Linked DNA regions of Homo sapiens: regions 1 and 2 are each linked to region 3. Evidence: promoter capture Hi-C in human tissues and cell types (Jung and others, 2019). All regions are on one chromosome and are shown on one strand. Each heading gives the region's core, a stretch centred on a gene start or on the middle of the fragment in contact. The rest is flanking DNA. Distances are from core to core; before and after follow the strand shown.

What was found. Contacts are between HindIII fragments. The study calls those that stand out against the background at their distance.
Region 1: a contact is called between the fragment with the promoter of CES2 here and the fragment with the promoter of CTCF in region 3, in 1 of the 25 tissues and cell types used here (adrenal gland).
Region 2: the fragment with the promoter of CBFB here is called in contact with the fragment with the promoter of CTCF in region 3 in 1 of the 25 tissues and cell types used here (adrenal gland).

Annotation. Positions count from the first base shown.
Region 1 is chr16:66,933,578-66,937,038 of GRCh38, reverse strand. CES2 (carboxylesterase 2) reads right to left here and starts at 1,523. Exons shown (of 12, transcript NM_001365405.1): 1 at 1,328-1,523. The coding sequence starts at 1,403. CIAO2B (cytosolic iron-sulfur assembly component 2B) reads left to right here and starts at 2,637. Exons shown (of 5, transcript NM_016062.4): 1 at 2,637-2,816; 2 at 2,973-3,052; 3 at 3,300-3,425. The coding sequence starts at 2,675. RefSeq lists enhancers at 1,301-1,913, 2,752-2,951, 2,982-3,031. The HindIII fragment of the contact is 13,939 bases long and covers 1-3,461 here.
Region 2 is chr16:67,026,992-67,030,492 of GRCh38, reverse strand. It overlaps CBFB (core-binding factor subunit beta), which reads right to left and starts at 1,344. Exons shown (of 6, transcript NM_022845.3): 1 at 1,008-1,344; 2 at 680-766. The coding sequence starts at 1,085. RefSeq lists silencers at 562-611, 862-1,101, 1,192-1,381 and an enhancer at 1,942-2,081. The HindIII fragment of the contact is 10,821 bases long and covers 1-3,501 here.
Region 3 is chr16:67,560,608-67,564,363 of GRCh38, reverse strand. It overlaps CTCF (CCCTC-binding factor), which reads right to left and starts at 1,838. Exons shown (of 12, transcript NM_006565.4): 1 at 1,640-1,838. CTCF-DT (CTCF divergent transcript) reads left to right here and starts at 2,055. Exons shown (of 1, transcript NR_158165.1): 1 at 2,055-2,953. It overlaps LOC124903703 (a long non-coding RNA gene), which reads left to right and starts at 914. Exons shown (of 2, transcript XR_007065094.1): 1 at 914-1,069. RefSeq lists silencers at 767-866, 1,387-2,396 and enhancers at 620-1,482, 2,627-2,676, 2,697-2,746. The HindIII fragment of the contact is 9,573 bases long and covers 1-3,756 here.

The sequences.
Region 1 (3,461 bases), core at 274-2,773, 630 kb after region 3:
CTTGACTTTTTTTTTTTTTTTTTTTGGTAGAGACAAGTCTTGTTGCCCAAGCTGGTCTCTAACTCCTAGCCTCAAGTGATCCTCCCATCTCTGCCTCTCAAAGTGCTGGGATAACAGGTGTGAGCCACTGTGCCTGGCCCAAAATATTTTAAAAGGTAGCCATCTGTGAGGCCAGGCAGATCTTCCTGCTGGGCTCCTGGTGAACTCTAGAATGTGGTCAAGGGCAGGCACGGGAGGAAGCCCTGCAGCAGTGCACCATGGGGCGGGGGGAGTATGGACTCCACCTGCGCAAATTAAATTGGGGAAGGGTTGGAAGAGACAGATCATACACTTAGGAGAGTTTCGGGTGAGAGGACCAAAGGCCGAAACACTCCCCCAGCTTCTGATAAGGGCCTGGAGAAGCCTGGCAGGCACACAGAGCCTTCACCTTTGCCCTGGAAGCCAAGTTGTGCCCTTGCCCAGGATGAGGTAAATGGCATGAGGGACACCACGAGCTCTTTGGTTCTTGTTTCTGGAGACAGATTTTTGCTTTTTCACCCAGGCTGGAGTGCAGTAGTGGGATGAAGGCTCACTGCAGCCTCAACCTCCCCTACTAAAGTGATCTCCCACCTCAGCCTCCCAAGTAGCTGGGACTACAGGTCACAGACCACCACAGCCCACTAATTTCTTTCAATTTTTTGTACACTCCGAGTCTCACTATGTTGTCCAGGCTGGCCTCCAACTCCTGGGCACAAGCGATACTCTCCCTTGGCCTTCTAAAGTGGTGGGATTAAAGGAGTGAGCCAATCGCACCCAGCCACTGTGGCCTCTTAGATCTGCTTTAGGATTTGGCGCCTGGGGGCTTCTGTTCCCCAAGGACCACTATCCTTGTCTGAGGCCCCTTTGGAGGGCTCAGGGCATCCCCCCTGGCCAAGGACGCCACACACTGAGAGCCAGATGCTGCCAGAAGCTATTACTGTTATTACCGGCCGGCAGCACCCGCTACAGCCACAATCATAAGAGGGAAATGGACTGAATCCCCACACCCCAATCCCTCACCCACTCCGACCCCAGGCTGCCTACCCGGCCTGGCATGTCCCGGCGCTCCTGGGGCCCCTGTACTCCGCTGGTTCCTTGCCGTGGTGTCCCCCAGCCCGACCCTTTCTGTGCTTCTAGGAGCCCACCTTGGGCGGCGGGGAGGCGTTGCGTGGGGCTCACGAGTTCCACGCTGTCATCTCCACCAGCTCCTACCTCCCAGGCGCCTGCCCTCCCGCACTGTCAGGTTCTGCCTCCGCAGCATTTGGCAGATCTGAGCCCGGTCCCTGTCGCCCCTCCGAGGGAGCCTCACCCTGGCCCCGGACAAGAAGCAGCAGAAGCCCACAGGCCACCGCGCTCAGCCGCGCACGAAGTCTGTGCAGCCGCATGGTCGGCTCGCTGGTCTCGGTTCGCTGCCGGCGGACACGCTGCTGTTCACCCAGAGGCTGCCCCGGGTCTGTCCAGCAGTGGATCAGTGCCTTGCCCAGCCTTGGAGTTTGGACTGGGCAGGGAGTCAGCGGGGTGCGCTGGCTTGGGCCGGGAAAGGTGGGTGTGGTAGGAGAGCGGGACTGAGCAGTCATAGGTGGGTGGGGATCTAGTGGTAGGCAGGCCCGGGCACGGCCACTTTCCTTTGCCCGGGCTCCTTTGGCATCCTCGGAAGGGGCTGTGCCATTCCTGCAGCCCTTCCGCGATCCAGGGAATCCTCTCTTCAAACCTGTCCTTGTCCACAGGCCCGATGAGCGCGCTGGGGGATCGATAGGAGGGGGCAATAAACTAGAATTGGAGACCCCAGGAGGGCTTCTCTGAGGATGTGCACGTTCAGGATCCCCCAGATGGAGAAATGGGAAGGAACTTGATCGGGGTGAAGGAACCGCTTGAGCAAAGGCAGGAAGGAGTGTCGGCGCCCTTCATTCTGGAAGTTCCTCCTTGCTTTCAGGACTCAGTTTCCTGGGTTCCCCTTCACGGCCCCTCATCTCCTTACAGTCCAGGGTCTGAGGGTCTCCGCGGTCCCCTCCCTACTCAGTCACGCCATTCTTTTGAAACGTACACGTGACCGCGGCACTTCTTAAGGAGCGCCCCCCTTTTCCTCGGTGGCTTTCAGTTTCCTCACCTCCCGCGGAGACCACGGCCATGGTCATTTATCCACTTGACAAACATTTCACGAGCCCCTGCCGGTCCAAGCTGTGGGGACGCCGTACTCCCGGGCCTATGGTGCAGCAGGGGAGGCAGGCGCGTCACCGGGAGGTCCCGAGACACTAGGATCCCTGCCAGGCCAGAGGCGACCAACCGTCCTGGATACGGGAGCTCCCGGCCAGCCTGACTTCCAGGAGGAAGCGGTGTGGGGATTACCTCCGACCGCCTTTAGTGCCCCCTGAGACCTGGTTCTGGCCTCTACGTTTCAGCCCGCTACTGGCTCGCACGACCCAGCGCCGCCGTGGTCCCTTCTCAGCGCCTTCTGCTCCAGCGACCATCATGTTCCCGGGTCCGAGCAGCCAGGGCCGCGGTCACCGCTTCTCTCGCACCTCAGGCCGAGAACCCACAACGCGGCGTGTCCCTCGCGCGACTCCGTCGCCACGCCACGCCCCCTTCCCGTTCTCCGGAAGTGCGCGGGTTGGAGCGGAAGCGCACGCCTGCTAGGATCAGCGGTGGTGGTTCCGCGATGGTAGGCGGCGGCGGGGTCGGCGGCGGCCTCCTGGAGAATGCCAACCCCCTCATCTACCAGCGCTCTGGGGAGCGGCCTGTGACGGCAGGCGAGGAGGACGAGCAGGTTCCCGACAGCATCGACGCACGCGAGATCTTCGATATCCGCCGCTGCTGGGCGCGGGCGGGTTCCGGGGGCTTGCGGTGGGGGGAGCAGTGATATCGAGCAGCTGGTGGAGCCGCATCCCAGCAGGGCGTTCCTGGCAGAGGGTTCTAAGTGGGCAAGGGCGCAGAGTCCCTTTTCCTTCACTTCCCACATCTGATTCGCTCCATCAATGACCCGGAGCATCCACTGACGCTAGAGGAGTTGAACGTAGTAGAGCAGGTGCGGGTTCAGGTGAGTCACTTCCGAGGGGAGCGAGTTGTTCCAGAGAGTCAGAAAGGTTTCTGTGCAGCAGGAGCTGGCGTGCTCTATGCTCACGAACACCGAAGGGTATCTTTGGGGAGGGAGATTGTTGTGCCTATTTTATGGGTGTTGAAACTGAGGCCCATAGAAGTTGGATGATTTGCCCAAAACAACAAACTAAGAAGAGGGACCTTGGGCTGAGGGTGGTTGACTCTTGACATCTCTCCTCCACAACCAGGTTAGCGACCCCGAGAGTACAGTGGCTGTGGCTTTCACACCAACCATTCCGCACTGCAGCATGGCCACCCTTATTGGTCTGTCCATCAAGGTCAAGCTTCTGCGCTCCCTTCCTCAGCGTTTCAAGGTCAGTTGGAGCTGAGCCCCGGGAGTGAGACCAGGC
Region 2 (3,501 bases), core at 95-2,594, 530 kb after region 3:
CCAAGGTCTGGTGAAGACGCACTAAATCTGCCTCCTAAAACAAGGACCTCGAGATCAACCGTGGGTTTTGCCCATCTGTGCAGTTTTTAGGAACAGCAGCCCTACTCAGGACATGGGGATAATGGTTTCTTTCTGATTCTCCTGAAGCTTAACATTCTAAGAAAATGACATTTTTAGGGCCTTTTCCCCCCCCTCCCCTCTCTATTAGAATAAATAACTGGAGGAAAGATTTCTACTCGGCGATCTGGTAGTGAGACCGCTTGACACAGAGAATTACCGACAGATCTACCTTCTAAGAAACAAACTATCGCCGACCTTGAATGAAGCTCCACTTCTTTTTCCGAATGGGGGTTTGCTTGCTACAAATACCCTGAACCCTTCTTCGGTGTCGCCGCCTAAACAATGCCCTTCGCTTGTTTAGTCTGGCTCGGGTTCGAGCTCCACTCGCGGTGCTCCGTTGGCCGACACGCGCCACCGCGGCGAGCCCCAGGAAAAGCGTCTCCCCGCGAGTACCGGCCCGCGGCATCTGGTTTCGCATTTTGAATCCCGAGTAGGAAGTGAGACGGCGCCCACTCAGTTCCGGGAGCCGCAGCAGCCGCGCCGCCGTCCGGAACCGGCCTGGGCCGCCGCGGCCCCGCGCAACAAGTGACCCGCGCGCGCCCCGGGCCAGCCGACTTACGATTTCCGAGCGGCCGTCGCGGCAGGCGTTCTGGAAGCGTGCCTGGCGTTCCTCGTGGGGCCGGTCCCTGAAGCCCGTGTACTTAATCTGCAAGGCAAGACGGCCCGAAATCAGGAGCCAAATCCGCGGCGCCGCCCGCGCGCCCGCCCTCCCAGCGCAGCGCCGATAAGGGCAAGCAGAGGCTGCGGGCGATGGCCGCCCCGGCGAGATTGCCCCTCCGCGGGCGCACCGACCGGGACTCCCGGGGACCGTGCCGCCCAAACTTTTCTCCGCCCGGGCCCACTCGGGGCGCGCTGCGGCCTCCTAGCCGCCCGCCCGCCTGCCTCACCTCACACTCGCGGCTCAGCTTCCTAAAAAACTCCTCGTTCTCGAACTTGCTTCTCTGGTCGGGCACGACGCGCGGCATCTTCCCGCCCTGAGGCCGCGCCGGCCGGCCGCGCTCGGGGCTTGCGCGGGCACCCGCTGGCTGGCTCCGCGCTGACCGACTGACCGCCCACCCGCGGCGCCCGGACGCCCGCTTCCCTTTGTTTCAGGCGCCCGCCCGCGTGGGCTCCCGTTCCGGGGAGTCTGAGGCGCCGCCGCCCGCTCGAGCCCAACCCACGCCGCCGCCGCCGCCGCCGCCGCCTCAGCCGTTGCCTGCCGCCCGCGCAGCCCCAGCGCTCACCGCCCCCGGCCGCCGCCGCCGCCGCCGCCGCCACTTCCTCTCACCGCCCACCCCGCCCCCGCCGGCCCCACCCCTCCTCCTCGCGCGCCCGCCCGCCTCCAACTCCGGCAAACAAGACGCACCATTCACAACTCCGCGGCCCACGCCGCGCATGCGCCACCCGCCCGCTGGCGGAGCGGCCTGGCTGTGGCGCCCCGGGGCTCCTTCCGCATCAGGGCCCTTTTCCCCCTGCTCGCCCGCGGCCACTCGGCGTGGAGCTGTCGTTGGGGGATCCGCCTGGCCTTTAGCAGACGGGAGTAGCCAGCGCAGGCCTTTTCTACCGCCCTTCCTCGGTCATCTGGAACTTCTGGGTTCCCCAGGTGCGCGGAGTAACCCCAGATTGTCACTTGAACGCGAGGAAACCTAAGTCCTTGGGGACTTTTCGTCCCTAAACCGACCGGCAGGGGTGTAGGCTCTGCACGTTGAAGACTGAGGTGGAAACGGACCAAAGAATCCAACCGAGTCATGGTGGAAAGGTCGTGGCTTTTGGAGTCAGATGGGTCTTAGATGGGATCCCACTCAGCTACACTACCTGCTGGCTGGGGCCTTAGATAAGAATTGGACCACTAAACCTCAGTTTCCTTATTTCCAAAATGCAGACACTCCTAGGTTTGCAGTGTTAGCGTGAGAACCTTTATGTGGGTCTAGCACACAGTGGGAGCCCAATAAATTTAAGTTTCTAAAGAAGAACAAGCTGAGTTAAGAATGTAACCGATTGCCAGTCCATATACTTACTCAATGTGCAATCAGCTGCAAAAAATAAGATCCATAAATTCTAGGGAAGTTGTTTAGCCCAAACTGGAGAAAGTCTGACATGGGATTTATGGCAGAGTTTGATTCAAAGTTAGTCCTGTGGCCGGGCACTGTAGCTCATACCCGTAATCCCAGCCCTCTTTTTTTTTTTTTTTTTTTTTTTTTTTTAAACAGAGCCTCGCTCTGTCGCCCAGGCTGGAGTGCAATGGCGCGATCTCGGCTCACTGCAACCTCCGCCTCCTGGGTTCAAGTGATTCTTCTGCCTCTGTCTCCCGAGTATTTGGAATTACAGGCACCCACCACCACGCCCAGCTAATTTTTTTGTATTTTTAGTAGAGACGGGGTTTCGCCATGTTGGTCAGGCTGGTCTCGAACTCCTGACCTCAGGTGATCTGCCCGCCTCGGCCTCCCAAAGTACTGGGATTACAGGCATGAGCCACTGCGCCTGGCCTAATCCCAGCACTTTGGGAGGCCGAGGCAGGCTGATCACCTGAGATCAGGAGCTCGAGGCCGGTCTGGTCAACATGGCAAAACCCCATCTCTACTAAAGTACAAAAATTAGCGGGGTGTGGTGGCACACGCCTGTAGTCTCAGCTACTCGGGAGGCTGAGGCAGGAGAATCGCTTGAACCTGGGAGGCGGAGGTTGTAGTGAGCCAAGACGGTGCCACTGCACTGCAGCCTGGGCCACAGAGCAAGACTCCGTCTCAAACAGCTACTCGGAAGCTGAGGCAGGAGAATTGGTTGAACCTGGGAGGCAGAGGTTGCGGTGAGCCAAGATCGTGCCATTGCACCCCAGCCTGGGGAACAAGAGCATAACTCCGTCTCGGGGGGAAAAAAAATCCATGAGGAAGCACTCTTGCTCCACAATGGGTCCAAGGAGGGCTCACAGACCTCCAAGTTGATCTTGGCCAAAGACTCTAGCAATAATTGTTTCTGCCATGGGAAATGTGGAATAAATAAAAATTGAAAGATCTCTAGAATGGCCTTGATGGCCATGAGCTTAGGCAAGGAAAAGGTCAGGGTCAAGGGAGCTAGACCTGGAGGGGTGGGAGTGCAGAGCAGGGCAGGGCGCTCTCATTGTCAGCCTCAAGGAGGGGAGGAACGATGTCCTAAGGGAAAGGGACAGCAAAGCCTGCCAAGCAGACCCAGAACAGCAGCCCCACAGACAGCCTTGGGCAACTCCAGGCCACAGGGTAACCCACACTCGTCGTAGTCTGGCATCCAACAGCCAGGATGACCGGGAAATAAGCCACAGGCTGAAGGAGGCCATCTCCTCGGCTGACCTCTATATGCCTTTTTGGTTGTTAATTTTTTTTCACTTATTTAAAAAAACAGAATTAAAGGAAATTTATAAAGGAAATTTTC
Region 3 (3,756 bases), core at 589-3,088:
TCATAAACTTAACATAGCTTCCTTCCTAAAAACAGGTTAATCCAGACTTTCTTCTCTCCAAAACAACCCGAACTGATACATTAACTGCTGCAATGAACTATATTAAGGCACTAGAATATTTACGGAAAAGCAAAAGACTCCCGCAATTCAACGGGATGCTTTTTAGTGAAGAAAGAAAACTTAAGGACCGAATAAATTTAAATATATGCCTTGTTTAACTTCCTTTCCCACCTATGAGGACTTGGTTTTTAACTTTCCTAGTTGATCGAAACTCAAAGTATGAAGACTACGTATGCGAATGTTTACTTAACGCTGAACTCGGGGCTACAGGAAGTCTCCTACTAAACAGTAGTTACATTAGGCGTAGATATTTATAAACCATCTGCAGCAAGTGACCCAGGATTCAATTACAACATCAACCCTCATATTTCATCGCATGGGCAAATTACCAGTCGAGTCAAGAATAAACTCATTCTGCCCTACTGGCGCTCTAGATCGAGTTGCACAATCCTGGGGCAGAACCGCCTTCACCTAGCCCTAGAGCATCAGGTACTAAGTTAGTGTGAGGACATTTTAAAGCGGGAGGGAAACTCAAGGGACTTAGCCCATACTCCCAAATTCAGAAATTTGTCACGTCACTTGAGATCAGAATGAAATTTAAGTTTCAGTCCCTTTGAGATCTCTGAGCGCACAAAGTCAGGCTGCTATCACTCGGCTGGGGAGTCCGAACCCGGCTGGATAAAAACTACTTGGTGCGGAACTCGCATCTTTTCCGCCCACCGTGGGGGGGCCGCACCGGTCGGGTCCGGCCAGGAACCCGGGCGCGAGTTTGGGGGCGCAGCGGGGGCGGCGAGCGCGCGTCCCCCCGCCCGCTCAGGCAGCGTAGAGGTGCGAGCAGCTCAGCCAGCCTTGCAGAGGGAGCTCTCGGCAGCTCTGGGGTCCCTCTGCTCGCAGCCGCTGCAGCGCCGCCTGCGCCACTCGGCGGAGACGGAGACCAGCGGCGGCGACGCGCGGACTGGGAGCGACCGCCGAGCAGCCAAGCAGCTGGGAAGGCACGCAGGCCGGCAGGGTAGGTTCCGGGGACGGGGCTGGCTGGAGGAGGGGCAGCCCGAGACGCGACGGCCAGGGCCCGACACCCATACGGCACCGGGACCTGGCTTAGCGCGCGGCGGCAGTCGGTCCGAACCCTTAAGCTAGGCGGGCGCCGAAGCCGGGACGCGGAGATAGTGTCTCAGCTGGGGCCACCCGCCGCGGGAGGGGCGGAGGACACAGGACAGAGGGCGGGCCGCGGCCGGGCGATCGGCCGGCCAAGAACCGGCCTCGAGGGCAGACAAAGGAAGGAAAATGGAGTCGCCGGGCGCGCGGGCCTCTGCCTCTGCCGCCGCCCGAGGCCTAGCGCGCTGCCAGGAGGGAGGCCTAGCGGGCGGGCGGGCGGGCGGGCGTGGGGGTGGGGGGGGCGGCCGGGCCACGGCGGCGACGGGCAATGGCGGCGGCCGCGCCGCAGCAGGGACGGTAGAGGGAGACAAACACCCCCCGGCGGCGGCGCTGGCGCCGGGCTGCAGCCAGCGCCGACCGGAGCGGCCCCATCGTGACACCTAGAGGCGGCCCGCGAAACCTCCTCCACCCCGGGCCCCCTTACCTCCGCGCCACACCCCCCGCGGCGCCCGCTCCGCCGCCGCTCCACGGCTCCGGCCACCCGGCGTCTCCGGCGAGCTCCGCGCGTCCGCACCGGCCACCGCCGCCGCCGCTGCCGCCAAAGAAGCAGCTCCGCGCACGGTTTAATCGCTCCACAGGCTCAGACACAAAATGGCGGCGGCGCGGTGCAGTGCGCCTGCGTCGGCGCTGCCGGGGCCGCGGGTGCTGATAAGGGAAGGGACGGGTGGGGGGACCGGCCGGGCGGCGAGTAGAGGGCGGGGGAGGAAAGGTGAGGGGAGGGGTTGGCGCAGGGCAGCATGGGAGGCGGCCCCGGGCGCCAACTTTCAAAAGCGGGCGCGATGGCGTCACGGGACGCGCCGCGAGTCGCGTCGTCACGCCGCACGCGCCCTCGCCGGGTCGCTCGTGGGCTCTGCCGGCGCCGCGGCGTCCTGGCTCCCGCTGGGTGGGGCTTCCTGGGCGGAGGCCGCCGCCCCTGGGCGGTGCCGGATCCAGTCCGCTTGACCTTATTCCCTAGCTGCTGTCTCCGGCCCCCTGAACCCGTACAGGGTTGGGGAAGTGGGGGTGGCTGGAGGAAGCGCGCGCGGGGCAAGCCAGTGGGGCTGAGGAGGCTCCCGGGCCCGGCCCCGCCCAGTCTCCGCCCCAGCCAGGCCCGACCCGCCCTCCGAATGTCTTACAGCTGCCCGCCCCAGAGTAAGGCCCGGTCGGTTCCCGCGCGCTCCCAGCTCCGTGCCCGCGAGCGACGACTGGAAGGGCTGTCCTTGCTCAGCGGCTTTTGGTGATCTCTCCGCCCTAGAAGAGGGCCACCTAAAAGCGGGTGCGAGAGGAGAGTGGGAGGGCCTCCTCTTGGTGTCCCCAGGCCACCTCAGCCCGGAGAGGTGGCGGAAAACCAGACTTGATGCTTTAACACGTTCATAGCAATCGCTTTTTACTGAAAGGAGTTTCTGTATTTAGCGCTGTGTAATTCTGTGGAAACGTGCATTTCTTGTCTTTGCGGGAGAGCTGTTCTCTGTGGGCGGAGACCTTCAGTCCCACCCCTCCCCAGGAGGCGCCTGCGGACCCTTCCCAACCTGCAGTCAAGTTGACCAAGAACTGACTGCAAGGTGCTGGTGGCTCTGGGATGAGAGCCTTTTGGTACTTACAGGGAATATGACTCTTCCCTTAGATATCAAATGGACCCAATATCTAGGGAGCAGCTTCTTCTCCATCCATCTGACCGTTCCGTTGTGAGAATGCTGGCCCAATAACATACTCTTTTTTTTTCCCCTAAAGGAATAAAAAAATCTGTATTTTTAAGATGTCAAATCTCCAGAGTTTTTAGATGTTAGCAACTGAATCAGATGTTTTTAAACTTCATGAGCTGATTAAACCACACAGATGAGCTGTCAGTTTACGACCCCTGGCTTGGCTTGGAGGAAAGAGTGAAGAGAAATTCCATGGCCAAATCCTGGGGCACTCCAATATTGGGAGGGTAATGGAGAAGGAGTCTGAAAGGCAGCATCTAGGAAGTCATGAAAGCTAGCGCTGAGTTGTGGAATCCCTGGGCAGAGAAGGTTTCAGGTAGGAGGCATCAGCTGAGCGGTGTGATAAACTTGGGCCAGAGATGTGGCTATTGGATTGGGTCACCTTGCAAGTCACTGGAGAATGTCACTGATGGCCTTGGCTTGATTCACGTGAGTATATCAGGGAGGTGGACCTGACCGGAATGGGTTAAACAGTCACCAGGAAAGTGAGGAAATGGAGACAGCACATGTATGCAATTTGAGAGAGGTTTTGCTGTGAAGGGACCAGATAAGTTTGGGGATAGATATAGAAAGAAATCTTTTAAAAGATAGTAGGGGCCGGGCGCAGTGGCTCACGCCTGTTATCCTAGCACTTTGGGAGGCCAAGGCAGGTGGATCACCTGAGGTCAGGAGTTCGAGACCAGCCTGGCCAATATGGTGAAACCCGGTCTCTACTAAAAATACAAAAATTAGTTGGGCATGGTATCGCGCGCCTGTAATCCAAGCTACTGGGGAGGCTGAGGCAGGAGAATTGCTTGAACCCGGGAGGCAGAGGTTGCAGAGAGCCAAGATTGGGCCACAGCACTCCAGCCTGGGCAAC